Linked DNA regions of Homo sapiens: region 2 is linked to region 1. The links are contacts of gene promoters, found by promoter capture Hi-C in blood cells and fetal thymus (Javierre and others, 2016). All regions are on one chromosome and are shown on one strand. The core of a region is centred on a gene start or on the middle of the fragment in contact, and the rest is flanking DNA. Distances in the headings are between cores, read along the strand shown. Region 1 holds the start of CSF2RB (colony stimulating factor 2 receptor subunit beta). Region 2 has its middle 15 kb from the start of EIF3D.

Region 1 (7,707 bases), core at 1,028-3,527:
CCAAAAGGCCAATCCACATATAGAAAATGTACAACTTCACCCATAATCAGGGAAAGAAAAAAATCACGCGACATTGAGAATTTCCATACATAATATTGGACAAAATTAGAAGATTGATAATTTCTCTAAAGGTAAATTGGACCCTTTATGCACTACCTTGGGGACGTCAGCTTAGCTCAGCTACTTTGAGGCTGATTTGACAATACCTATTATAATTTCTAACGCACAACCTCTGCACAGCAATTCTGCATTTAGTAATTTAGGCTACAGAAACACTTTCACAGATGTGGAAAAATTAGAAACAATCTAGGTGTCGATCAACGTGAGATTAGATGAATTGTGGTGTACCCATCCTAATAAATGCCACATATTTCTTAGGGTTACTTAACGAGTTAAATCTGTATGTATTATTGTAGAAATTTGGAAATATTCCAAAATACAATATTAAGTGAAAAAATTAGGAATATATATATATATATATAAATAAAATAATCCCATTTCTGTAAAAAGAAAAACTACCATCCTGGCACAGTGGCTCAAGCCTGTAATCCCAGCATTTTGGGAGGCTGAGACAGGCGGATCATCTGAGGTCAGGAGTTCGAGACCAGCCTGGCCAATATGGTGAAACCCTGTCTCTACTAAAAATACAAAAATTAGCCACGTGTGGTGGCTCATGCCTGTAATCCCGGCTACTCAGGAGGCTGAGGCAGGAGAATCACCTGAACCCGGGAGGCAGAGGTTGCAGTGAGCCAAGATTGCACCACTGCATTCCAGCCTGGGCGACAAGAGTAAAACTCTGTCACAAAAACAAAACAAAACAAAACAAAAAACAAACAGGAAAAGAAAAACTATATGCTTGTATCATGCTTAGAAAATGTTCTGGAAGAATACATGTGGTGAAAAGAATAAGCTATGGAACTAGGGAAAAGAAATTGCTGGGGACTTTGTCTCTTGTGCTACATAATTCTAGATTATTCTAATTTTCATGAAGGTAGGTTTCTGTGTAGTTGCTTGTTTAGCATTAAATACATTCCTTATACAACTCATGAATTATCCTGTGGTGTTGGTATATCTGTATACTGGAACAATATAAATAAAACTGCTGGATGAAAAAAAGAGTGACCAAAAGCTAATAGGAAATGTTTACTCATTATAAAATGATTACAAAGCAGGAAAGATGATAGAAAAAAATTAGAATTGGGCTGTACAAAAATATAACAGCAGGGTTTTTGAAGACTAAAAATTGCACATATGCAGCTTGTCGCTAGCACCTGTCTGACAAGGTCCCAGTGAAACACCTGCCCTTTCATTCTCAGGGCCAGTACACACACCTGCACACACCCTGAAGCAGGCACCCCAGATACCCACCCACCCAGCCAGCATACTTGGGTACAGAACACACACACCTGGGCCCCAACCCAAATCAGCAACCCAAATCAGCAGGGCAGAGTGTCATAACTAAAAAGACAGACAGACAGAGAGAGAGACTGAGAGAGAGAGAGAGAGAGAGAGAGATTGCTGGATAGTGCCTGGTATGTCTCTGGGCAAAGTGCTGGGCTCTTTCTCAAGTTCAAAGTGAGCTTCTCAAGCCACACCGCACCCAGCTCTGGGCCTCAGCGCAGCAAGCTTCCAGGTTTCACCCTCTGCCTCTTAGTCTCTCTGCACTCCTGCATCCCCAGACATCCGCACATGCACATACACACACAGGCACACACACAAATGCACACACGGGCAAACACACGAGCATGCGTTCTCTCTCTTTCTAAACCAAGATGTCAGGGACTATCCATGCTCCCCATTCCACAGATGAGGAGACAGAAGCCCAGGGTGGACAGGGGGTGCTCTCACTACCACCAGCATCTTAGTGACAAAGCGAAGACAGACTATAGGTGCCTGACTCCCAGGCCTGAGCTCTCTTCACCCCACTAGGCGTCCTTCCCACCAGGACCAACCAGATCCCGCTAGCGAGGCTGAGTCCTCCCCAGAGCTCTCCTACAACACCCAAGCAGCTTGGCACCCCTGGCTGCCTCCCCATCCACTGGCCGCCCTAGGAGTCTGGGCTCAGGTCATCCTAAGAGGCCAAGCCCTAACTCCTCCAAGTCCCCAGGGCACAGCTACCCACAGGACGCCCCCCAGGCTCCCCCTGTCCTTTTTCATCCTGGACTCCCCACATTCCCCCCTGCTCTGACCCCACCCCTCAGCCCTGCTCCTGGACGCCGGGCCATACCTCTGTGTGGTGGGAGAGACCAGTCTTCTTCTGGAGCCTCTAGGCAGAGTGAGCCTCCCACGTTTCCTATTTATGTTGATGTCATCAGGAAACAGAGAAGCAGAAAGAGGAAGCAGTGCCGGCCCAGGCCTACTTTGCTAATAGTGCACGTGACTTTTCTTACTTCCAGAAAGCCTCCTACTCCAATTTACCTTCCTATAAACTCCTAGGCCTCCTTCAAGCCTCAGCTGACGCAGGGCCTCCTCCATGCAGCCTTCCCTGACTGCTTGATGGGGATGCAGGTGGAAGTGGCTGCAATAACCATAGCTGGTTTGAGCCCAGAGCCAGACAGATCTGTGTTGGACTTCCAAGTCCACTGCTTCTTAAAGCGTGTCCTTGTGCAAATCATCTGCGTGTTACTTCCCCAAGCCTCGGGACATCCATCTGTCTGTTACTTTTGCAGAAGCATCTACAAACCTGGAAGGACTGTTGAGGGAATCCAGTGAGATTCTGTGCAGGAAGACCTTAGCTCAGAGCTGGCCACAGGAGAACCCCCTACAAGTGGTAGCTGGTGGCATGTTGATTTCCCCGATGTCCTCTTTGCCCTGCCGCCCCACCCCACCATGTGTCATATGGTCATGTGTGTTCATGGCTGTCTTTCTTCTGACACTATCTTCAGTGCTGGCTTGTGTCCGGCTTGCACTTCCCTCCCAAATACCTAGCACATGGCCTGGTACAGAGGAGAAATTGCACCTTTGACTGTGTGCAAATGAATAGATGAATGAATGAATGAATGAATGAATGAATGAATGAATGAGTGGCTCCCTGAGCACAGCAGGGCCAGCAGAATTAAGGTCAGGTGAGTGAGGCAGTCTCTCGTGCTCAAAATTTAAACAGGCATTTAAAAATTCAGTAATTGTTGTAAGTAATATTTTAATGCAATATGGTTTAAAAAAATCCCAACTGATGCAGAAACTATTCACGGTGAACCAAATATGAAAAGTTTGAATAAAGACAAGATGAATCACAGTGCCAAGACACAACAAAACGCAGTCATATTTCTCCTACATGGGGCTGCCTCCCAGGAGAAAGGGCAGCAGGCAGGAATGAGGGGAATGGAGGGCAAGAATGAGGGGAATGGAGGAAATGGAGGGGCAGGAACCTGCCTCGAAGCCACTGGAATTCTGGCCTGATTGTTGTTCTTTGCTTTCCTCCTACCAGGAAGGGCAGGGTTGGCCAGGAAGAGCTGGCAGGGCCTCACCCTAGCAGAGAAAGCCCAGGGTAGAGGAAGGCATGTGTGGTTCTCTCAGGCACTCCGGTCAGTGTGAGGTCCCTGCCTGGCATGGAAAAACCCTGCAGGGGCTTCTCCAGGGCTGGAGAGGATGGAATTAAAGTGACGTCCCGGGCTCTCTTTTCTCCCAGGTGTCCCCACTCTGCCTGTCTTTGCTGAGGTCCTCTGTGGGACTGGGAGGCTGCGGGCCTGGATGCCCTCAGGAGCACAGAGGATGCTGTCTGGTGGAGAAACGAAGAACCCGAGACTCTGAGTCAAAATCACTCCGGACACCAGACCCAAAATGTGAAGGAGCTTTAGGAACACCTCAGCCAATTCACTTGACTGACCCTTTCCTTTTAAAAGTCATCATAGAGCAGCAGGGGATAAAAATCTACATTTGAATGAGTCTAACAGAGTTCTCTCAATAAGTATTAAAAGTTCTAAGCGAGAAGAATCACACCGTCAGGAATTCATTGAATGTTTTCGTTTGTTTGTTTGTTTTTTCCTTCAGTGGTATGTAAAATACCGTGTCTTGCAATTGACGATCTTTTAGAGACTAAGAAACCCAAGAAAATGTTGGCAAGAACGTAGTACTCATAATGACCAGGGCTTGAGCATTTACGCTGTGAGCAGACCTTCGGCTGGGGGCTTCTCCATCTCTTCCCAATAACCTTTATGTAGCTGTTACTGTCTTCACCTTACAGATGAAGAAATTGAGGCATGAAAAGGAAGATAACTTGTTGAAAGTAGTAACTCGTATATGTTAACATTGCATTTTTTTCCATTTCCATTTTTATTCTGAAACTATTTCAAAATACAGAGCGTTAAAGGAATGATACAAAGAACTCTCACATACCCTTCATGTGGAAACCCCCTTTGAGTTTCGCTAAGCTTCTCAATAATGGTTTTGTAACAAGAAAATCCATCCGGGACTTTGCATTCTCTCTAAATGCATGGCTCTTAGTTGCCATGTCTTTCGGGCCTCCAGTTTGAAACAGATGCCTTGTTTTTTCCTCGACATCTCGAAGACTGCAGGTTGGTTGTTTTGAATAATGTCCCTCGATTTGGCTCTGTCTGATGATTAGAACTGGGTTATGCTTTTTTGGCCAAAATAGCACAGAAGTGATGCTGGATTATTCTTGGTGAGTCCTATTAGCTTTCATTGTCAATCTGTCCCATCACTAATGTCGTTCGCTCTGATCATTTGATTAACTTGACACCAATCAAGTTTCTCTATTGTAAAGTTACTTCCCCTTCCACATCGTAATTTATAAGCATTTGGTAGGGAGATACTTTTAAGCTTTCTCATCCCACTCCCACACTTGTATAATTTCAGTATGCAATGATGTTCCTTAATTTAATTAAACATTATCATGATGATCATTGCCAAATGGTGACTTTTAAAAATTCTGTCATTCAGAAGTCCTAGCCAGAGCAATCTAACAAGAGAAAGAAATAAAAGACATCCAAATAGGAAAAGAAGAAGTCAAACTTTCTCTCTTCCTTGATGATATGATTTTATACCTAGAAAACCCTAAAGACTCCACCAAAAGTCCCCGGGAACTGATGAACAACTTCTATAAAGTTGGAAACAAAATCAATGTGCACAAATCAGTAGTATTTCTGTGCACCAATAAAGTTCAAGCTGAGAGCCAAATCAAGAATGCAATCCCATTTGCAATAGTCACACACACACACACACAAATAAAATACTTAGGAATGCAGCTAAGCAAGGTCATAAAAGATCTCTACAAGGAGAACCACAAAGCACTGGTAAAAGACATCATAGATGACACAAACAATTGGAAAAACATTCCATGCTCATGGATTGGAAGAATCAGTATCATTACAATGGCCATACACCCAAAGCATTCCACAAACTCAATGCTATTCCTGTCAAACTACCACTGTCATTTTTCACAGAATTAGAAAAAACTATTCTAAAATTCATATGGAACCAAAAAAAAGCTCGAATAGCCAAAACAATCCTGAGCCAAAAGAACAAAGCCTGAGGCATCACATTACACAAATTAAAACTATACTAAGGCTACAATAATCGAAGCAGCATAGCACTGGTATAAAAACAGACACATAGACCAATGGAACACAGAAATAAAGCTGAATACCCGCAGCCATCTGATCTTCAACAAAGCTGACAGAAATAAGCAATGGGGGAAGCACTCCCTATTCAATAAATGGTGATACGATAGCTGGCCAGCCATACACAAAAGAATGAAACTGGACCCTTACCTTTCACCATATACAAAAATTAACTCAAGATGGATTAAAAGTTTAAATGTAGGACCTCAAATTATAAGAATCCTAGAAGAAAACCTAGGAAGCACCACTCTAGACATCATTCTTGGGGAAAAATTTATGACTAAGTTCTTAAAAGCAATTGCAATATAAACAAAAATTGACAAGTGGGTCCTAAGTAAACTAAAAAGCTTCTGCACAGCAAAGGACACTATCAACAGAGTAAACAGACAACCTACAGAATGGGAGAAAATATTCGCACACTGCATGCAGCAAGGGTCTAATATTCAGAATCTGTACAGAACTTAGGCAATTCAGCAAGCAAAAAATAAAATAAAATAAAATAACCCCAATAAAAAGTGGGCAAAAGAAATGAACAGACACTTCTCCAAAGAAGACATACAAGCAGCCAACAGATATGAAAAATGCTCAATATCACTAATCATCAGAGAGATGCAAATCAAAACCACAATGAGATGCTATCTCACATCAGTTGGAATGACTATTATTAAAAAGTCATAAAACAATAGACGCTGGTGAGGCAGCAGAGAAAAGCAAATGCTTATATGCTATTGATAGGAATGTAAATTAGTTCAGCCATTGTGGAAAGCAGTTTGGAGATTTCTTAAAAAACTTAAAGCAGAACAACCATTTGACCCAGCAATCCCATTACTGAGTATATATCCAAAAAGACACCTGTGCTCGTATGTTCATTGCGGCACTATTCACAATAGCAAAGACATGGAATCAACCTGGTTGCCCGTTAACAGTGGACTGGATAAAGGAAATGCGGTATATATACACCCACGGAATACTACACAGCCATAAAAAGAATGAAATATGTCCTTTGCAGCAGCATAGATGCAGCTGGAAGCCATTATCCTAAGCAAATTAATGCAGGAACAGAAAACCAAATACTGTATATTTTCACTTATAAGTGGGAGCTAAACATTGGGTGCTAATGGGCATAAAGATGGCAACAATAGACACAGGGAACTACTTAGAGGGGTGAGGCAGAGAGGCAAGGATTGAAGAACTAACTACCCGGGTACTACACTTACCATGTGGTTTGGGATATGAATTATCATTTTTCACAGAATTAGAAAAAACTATTCTAAAATGCTAAAGTATTATGAGATAACAAAGGGGCACGTACACCCCCTGAGTCTAAAATAAAAGTTGCTATTGTTAAATAAATAAATAAATAAAATGTCACCATTCCTTTTGTATTTAATAGTTGGCATTCTACCTAAGGAAGAGTTTGTTTTCCTTCTTGTGTTCTTTGTTAACTTATATAATCAGTGTGGACTCACGGATTTCTATTTTATTAAATGGCTTACAGTCAGTACCTACCATGATTTATTTTAATGCTCAAATCATGCCAACTTTGGCCAGTGACAGCTCCTTCAAATGGGCTCCTGTGTCCTTTTCAATGATCCCCATCGTTCTTTAAGACCTCCCTGACTTTCAGGCAGCATGAAATGCTCATCTCCTCTCCTATTTACCTTGCCCTGGGCTCGGACTTGGGAATTTTCTCCAAGGGGCTTGGGTTCCTCATAGTAGAGAATGGTATTTAGAGCCAAGATACACACACAAGGTGATCTTGCTCCCTGCTGCCCAAGTGTCACTGTCCTCAGGTCTCTCACTGGACAGAGCCAGAGAATGAATGAACAAATGCGTATATTGTACTTACAGCTATATTTTTTTTCTTTTTTTGAGACGGAGTATTGCTCTTGTTGCCCAGGCTGGAGTTCAATGGCACGATCTCGGCTCATTGCAACTTCTGCCTCCCAGGTTCAAGCCATTCTCCTGCCTCAGCCTCCCAAGTAGCTGGGATTACAGGCATGCACCACCACGCCCGGCTAATTTTTTTTTTTTTTTTTTTTGTAGAGACGGGGTTTCACCATGTTGGTCAGGCTGGTCTTGAACTCCTGACTTCAAGTGATCCACCTGCCTCGGCCTCCCAAAGTGC
Region 2 (7,036 bases), core at 4,428-6,927, 370 kb after region 1:
GGACAGAGGCTGTGTTTGCATACCTGCATTCTTAATGCTTAGCATGTAACAGGCACTCAGAAAACGTTTGTTGAATGAATGAATGAATCATCCTGACCACTCAGCTACTTGGTGCCTTCAGGAGCTGAATTACGGTGAGTCATTCATGTCCTGCAAATGCTACACGGTGAAGGCAGTGACCTCCTCTCTTTGCAGTCTCCAGCCCAGAAGCCACCTCTCTCAGCCTGCACACCCTCAGAGAGCCTTCCAGGAGCTGTTCGGCATTGCAGCCTACAGGGAATCCCCCTGCCTCTCCTCTCCCTGCCACAGAGGTCTGTGGAAGCCCTCAATCAGAAGCCGTGCTAGGAGTGGGGATGGAAAGACAAATAAGATACAATCCCGGCCCTCACTGATGAATAACAACCTGGAGGAGATAGATGCCTGGGTCTGCCTCATTCCATCCACCACCTATAATTCATCAAATGCCTACCATGTGCCTCTCTCCCCCGTGCCTTTACATAAGTTCTGTCACCCTCCGTGCCTCAGTTTCCTCCTCAAGTGGGACAGAAAGACCCACCCGATCTAACGCATCAGGACTGCTTGGCAGATAGAACCAGATAATCCACGTAAATTGCTCGATAAACTATGAAGCCCTGTACCGATGTTATTACGGCTATTATTAATATAGCTAAACATAACAGTATTGAATAACTGAAGCCCTCCCCGGAGCAATCACAGTCACTTGCACATAGTAGGTGTTTAATTGATCTTTGATGCGTTGAAATGCAGTCCGGGGGGCGGGGGGTGAGGGGTGGGTTGGGCCTGATTTTTCATGCGTTGTGGAGCAGCGCCATCATGTGCCCACACTGAAGAACACACAGACCTTCTGGCAGAGTGCTTTGACGGACCCAACGGGGAGGGGCTGCTGAGGTCCCTTTAGGACAAATACAAGGAAAAGTCCGTTTGACGCCACGGAGAAAGGAGAAGTTTCTTCGCCCCTAGAGGTGGTACAGGCTCAGAGCATAAACAGAGGCAAAAAGGGTTTGAAACAGCATTGTGGATTATTTCTATCAAGGAGTTTTTGGGAGATATGAAGCACCCAGGGAACAACCCAACCACGTGGTCAAAGCCTGGTCTTGTCTCGTCCGGTCTGACCCTGTGGAAGGTGCTGTTTAATCTTCATCTCAGAAGACTTGAGATCAGGTGTGGTGGCTCACGCCTGTAATCCTAGCACTTTGAGAGGCCGAGGCGGGTGGATCACTTGAGGTGAGGGGTTCAAGACCAGCCTAGCCAACATGGTGAAACCCCTTCTCTACTAAAAATACAAAAATTAGCAGGAAATCGCTTGAACCCGGGAGGCGGAGGTTGCAGTGAGCCAAGACCATGCCACTACACTCTAGCCTGGGCAACAGAGCCGGACTCCATCTTAAAAAAAAAGAACAAGAAGTGAACTTGGCTCTGCCACTCTGCCATACTCAAGCTGTGTGACCTTGAGTAGACGGTTGCCTTCTCTGAGCTCCAGTTGTCTCATCTGTGCAATGAGGTCATGATCCCTGCACCGGCCACCTCAAAGAGTCATTGCGAAGATCAAATGGCGTAAGAGAAGCATAAGTTCAGAAATGGTCAAGTGTTATACAAACACGATGGGTGGCAATCATTCTAATTTCCAATCACAGTAATAACGGGCATTGACTGAGCTCTACACTGTGCTAAACCCTTTCACACATAATCTCACTTAATTCCCACTAAACCTTACCAAATGTGTACTCTTAAGAGGCCCATTTTGTAGATGAGGACATTGGAGTTTAGAGGAATTTGAAATCTTGTCCAACCAAAGTCACACTCAACTAATAAGGAGAAAAGTCAGGATTTGAACTCAGGACAGTGGGACCTCCTCAAAGTAGGAGAGTCTCAATAGTTCCAGCCACAGACATGGGATTTAAGGGGAGCCCCAGATAGGCAGGTAGATGCCTTGAAGAAAACAAAAGAATTATTGACATTTCTTTTGCCCAGGAAATTCTGCTTCCTTCCCAACTCTACCCTAGTACTCGCTGTGACCTTGGAGCCTCCCAGGAGAGGGGAACCCTTGGGCTCTGCATCCAGGGCCCAGTTCACACCCAAAGTCAGAGAATCCCAAAGCATTCCCTTCCAGGGTCCAAGCCTGACCAAAGGCCATGCGTGCTCCTTTAAGGGACTGGCAAGGGCAAAGTGGGGGATGGATCCCCTTCAAGGTCACTGTTAAACAGATGGTAACAAAATCTCTTGGGAGAAGGTGGCTACTTGTCAACAGTCATAATGACCCTCAGGTATCTAGAGTCCTCTTGAGCTAATGAGATGTCTGAGATTGCCTCCTGTCCACTTTCCCAACGTTTGGCCCTCAGAACACTCCTTTGAGGTCAGAATCCTTAGCTCTACCTTACAGATGAGGAAACTGAGGTTCAAGGAAAGGAAGTGACTCATCTGAGGTCATACTGCAAGTAAATGGCAGAGACAGGACTCAAGTCTAAGATTCCAGAGTACAAATCCTCCTAACTCCCGAGGAATCCAGAGACAGGGGAGGTAGAGTGGCCCAGAACTGTTTCTGGTTGACAGCTCTGGTTCTAGGGAAAGTAGTCCAAAAAGGTTTCTGGTTGGTAATCCTAGTTCTAGCCCCACTTCTGCCATCAGCAGGCTGTGTGACCCGAGATAAGTCACTGGGCCTCAGTCGCTTTATGCCAGAGATTCCTCGTGAGCTCTGACTTTGCGTCCTTTATTCATGTCCTTGAGCCATAAAGATGAGGGTGTTCAGCAGCATCTGCAGGTTTTATAGAGAAGCAGCTGTGACTTCGCCTCCCTTGGGAAGCTTTTCCTGACTGCCCAAGGCTGAGTTATTATTGCTCATCGTGCTCTCACAGCACCCACAGCATTGCACTGCAACTTATCAGCAAACTCCCACAGGCCCCAGCGGCAAACATGCATGACTATGAAGAAGTTTGAATCTGGTGCAATAGGGAGTAGTGGGGACTGAGGCAAAGTAGAGAGCCCCTGGCCAAGGGGGCAACTCCTATTCAGCTCCAGCTTCTTCTCGTATCGCAGGAAGGCCAGCCCGGTGTTGCCAGATCTTAAGAGAAGCCAAAAAACTAGATTTTTAGGTGAAATCTGCTTTTTAAACATAGACGCAAAATATATTTGATTAAGGACTTTATAGGTATTGCAGCCCCTGGATTAGCCACATCTACTTTCCCCATTAGACTCTGAGTTACTTGACTGGGCACAGTGGCTCACACCTGTAATCCCAGCACTTTGGGAGGCCAAGGCGGGTGGATCACTTGAGCTCAGGAGTTCAAGACCAGCCTGGCCAACATGGTGAAACCCAGTCTCTACTCAGAAATTACCCGGGTGTGGTGGCGGGTGCCTGTAATCCCAGCTATTCGGGAGGCTGAGGCAGGAGAATCGTTTGAACATGGGAGGCAGAGGTTGCAGTGAGCCAAGATCGTGCCATTGCACTCCAGCCTGGGCGACAGAGTGAAACTCCATCTTAAAAAAAAAAATAGACTCTAGGTTACTTGATAGCATGGCAAGGTCTCCACCTGAACGCTGAGTGACCAACTCGGGGCCTGGTTCCTCACGAGTGACCAGTGATTGCTTTTTATTTATTTATTTTTTTTTTTTTTGAGACGGAGTCTCTCTCTGTCACCCAGGCTGGAGTGCAGTGGCATGATCTTGGCTCATTGCAAGCTTCGCCTCCCGGGTTCATGCCATTCTCCTGCCTCAGCCTCCCGAGTAGCTGGGACTACAGGCGCCCACCACCACACCCGGCTAATTTTTTGTATTTTTAGTAGAGACGAGGTTTCACCGTGTTAGCCAGGATGGTCTCGATCTTCTGACCTCGTGATCCACCTGCCTCGGCCTCCCAAAGTGCTGGGATTACAGACATGAGCCACGGTGCCCGGTCAGTGATTGCTTTTTAAATGTTGCGAGATCTTGCCCCAGCCAAAGCCCCTACTTCCAAGTTTCTGGTAACCAGAGTAACCCCACTGGCATGTATCAAGGGCTTATTTGCATGCCAGGCACTGCCTTAAGCATGTCACATATAAAATCTGACCTAATTCTATTCTCCCTCCCTCCCGAAGTGGTACATGCTATGATTCCATCTATTTTACAGATGAAGAAGCTATGGCTCAAATGGTCACACAACTTGCCCAAGGTCACACAACAGTGGTAAAAATTTAAATCGCTGGAATTCAAATTCAGTCAGTCTGACTCCCCAGATGTCTGCTTGCATTACAGTGATGTCAGACTGCTCCATGAGACCACCTTAAATATCACCTTGCGGTCACTCAGCCCCAGCCACAAGGCTCTCCAGGCACCCGCCGGGGCAGTGGGAACCAAGGCATGTGGTATGAAGAGATGAGAGACCGGATGCGGTGGCTCATGCCTGTCATCTCAGCATTTTGGGAGGCTGAGGAGGGCGGATCACCTGAGGTCAGGAGTTCGAGACCAGCCTGGCCAACATGGTGAAACTCTGTCTCTACTAAAAAACACAAAAATCCGCTGGGCCTGGTGGCAGGCACCTGCAATCCCAGCTACTCGGGAGGCTGAGGTGGGGAGAATTGCTTGAACCCAGGAGATGGAGGTTGCGGTGAGCTGAAATCGCACCACTGCACTCCAGCCTAGGCAACAGAGAGAGACTCCATCTCAAAAAAAAAAAAAAAAAAAAAAAACAGAGATGAGAACAACACTGTGCTGCAGAAAGTGGGGGCCTGAGGTTCAGAGAGGGGCACCTACTAGCCCACAGCTGTGCGGCCAGATCGAGCCAAAATCAGTATTTATCTTTGGCCCTAAGACCCCAAATCCCAGCTTCCAACAGAAGAAAACATATGGGGCAGAGAGAAGGAGCCAAGGAGAGGCCTGGTTATTGCTCATCCCATTGAAACAGTCAAACACTCTCTAAACTAGCTAAATGGTTCTGAAGGAAATGGGAATCTATTTTGTCTCCTGTCGCCAGGCCTGCAAATCCTGATATATCTCAGGCCACGGCAGCGAAGCGGATGGCTCAGCACTTGGAGACATGCCCACACGAGGCAGGAAGTAGGGTGGATGATTCAACAGGTACCTCTCTATTCTGAGAACTGGTCCTGTGATGGGTGAGTGTACATGCAGCTGAAATAAAAAATGATTTAGAATGTCGACCACTGGAACGCACAGCAAAGCCTCCCTTTCTTCCTGGGGGACTTGTGGCATTCTTTGGGGCTTTAATCTTTCCAGGTTTTCTAGTTCTGAAATTTTGCTGAGACAACAAGGTTCTTGGGAGGCTGGGGTGGGCTGGTGGCTCCAAAGCTTCCTTTCCTGCTGGCACAGCCTCCAACAGGATGATAAAATGGCTGCCGTCCTACCTGGGACACCATGTTCCTTGCCCTCAGTCTTCCTCATCTGCAGAATGGGGGTAGTGATCTCTGCCTAACCGAGACAGAAAAGTTTGGTACAGGTAGCACAGCTCCACAATTTCTTATCTGAAATCCTCGCGGCTCAATGTGCTTTATCAATTTATGTATTTTATTTTATATTTTATTTATTTTGAGACACAGTTTCACTCTGTCGGCCAGGCTGGAGTGCAGTGGCCCGATTTTGGCTCACTGTAACCTCCACCTCCTGGGTTCAAGCGATTCTCATGCCTCAGCCTCCCCCAGTAGCTGGGATTACAGGGACCCACCACCACGCCTGGCTAATTTTTGTATTTTAGTAGAGATGAGGTTTCACCCAGGCTGGTCTCAAACTACTGACTTCTGGTGAGCTGCCCGCCTTGGGCTCCCAAAGTGCTGGGATTACAGGTCTGAAGCCACCACATCCGGCCTCAATGTGCTTTATAACTTGGAATTCTTTGGATTCCTGAAAGGTTTTCGAGTGGATCTACCGCATATCAGGTGACATGCCAGTGAGCTCTGGAGCAATATTCCATAAACCCTTTAATTTTTCTGCAGCAAAATGTATAAATATTCACGCTAAGTGGGACAAAATAAAGACTATAAATAACCTCACATCCAATTCATATCAGGTTTGCCATCAAATGCTTGCCCCAATCTCATGAAAAAGCTTTAGATTTTCAGAGCTTTGTGGGTTTTGGAATTGTGCATGGAGAGTGCCAGCTTTGGTTTCAGCCACACCTGGGTTTCCATTCCAAATGCACCCTGACCAGCTGGCTCACCTGGGGCAAGACATTCCTCCTCTCTGAGCCTCAGTGTTCTCGTCTATAAAATGGGGTGATGATTCCTATGGTGCTTCTTAAAAGATAAGCAAGGAAACGCAAGTTGCCACTCTGGAAGAGAGGTTGGCCACACTGACCGGTCCCAATGAGGTGAATCCACCACAGGATATCCGGGATCTTTCTGCACACAAGGCGGTGGCAGACTCCCTTTGACCAAACTTACAAGGCTGACGCATAGCAGAAGATCCATTTATTATTGGAGAGCACAGTAAATACCCCACCAGCAGAATGGAGCACTTCCATCAGCCTAACCAGCACGTGCTTCCCTACAGCACAAGTTCCATGAGGATCCACGGTGTCACAGCACTGCTTGGTGGCAGGGAGTCAGAATAAACAACAGCATTAAGAAGCATTTATCGGCCAGGCACGGTGGCTCACGCCTGTAATCCCAGCACTTTGGGAGGCCGAGGCGGGCGGATCATGAGGTCAGGAATTCGAGACCAGCCTGACCAACGTGGTGAAACCCCATCTCTACTAAAAATACAAAAATTAGCCAGGCATGGTGGCAGGCACCTGTAATCCCAGCTACTAGGGAGGCTGAGGCATAAGAATCACTTGAACCTGGGAGGCAGAGGTTGCAGTGAGCCAAGATTGCACCACTGCACTCCAGCCTGGGTGACACAGCCAGACTCCATCTCAAAAAAAAAAAAAAAAAAAAGTGTTTATCACAGAGCAGCTTGAAGCCACCTCTGTTTTGGGAGGACAGTCTTACCCGGGGAATGGGGATGATGCTTGAGCCAGCGCAACCAAGAACCTGTGCCCTGGACAATGCCAGCCCTGGCTCTGTGACCATCCCCTTCCTAAATGTCCCCT

What was found. The method cuts DNA at HindIII sites, captures the fragments that hold promoters and counts their contacts. A CHiCAGO score of 5 or more calls a contact.
Region 2: a fragment that was not itself captured here is called in contact with the fragment with the promoter of CSF2RB in region 1 in 1 of 17 cell types (endothelial precursors); the score reaches 5.9 in endothelial precursors.

The regions. Positions count from the first base shown.
Region 1 is chr22:36,908,198-36,915,904 of GRCh38, reverse strand. It overlaps CSF2RB (colony stimulating factor 2 receptor subunit beta), which reads right to left and starts at 2,277. Exons shown (of 14, transcript NM_000395.3): 1 at 2,228-2,277. RefSeq lists an enhancer at 3,743-4,444. The HindIII fragment of the contact is 2,744 bases long and covers 1,629-4,372 here.
Region 2 is chr22:36,540,241-36,547,276 of GRCh38, reverse strand. No RefSeq gene overlaps it. Among named protein-coding and RNA genes, the nearest start is that of EIF3D, 15 kb to the right of the region's middle. RefSeq lists a silencer at 2,581-2,875. The HindIII fragment of the contact is 753 bases long and covers 5,301-6,053 here.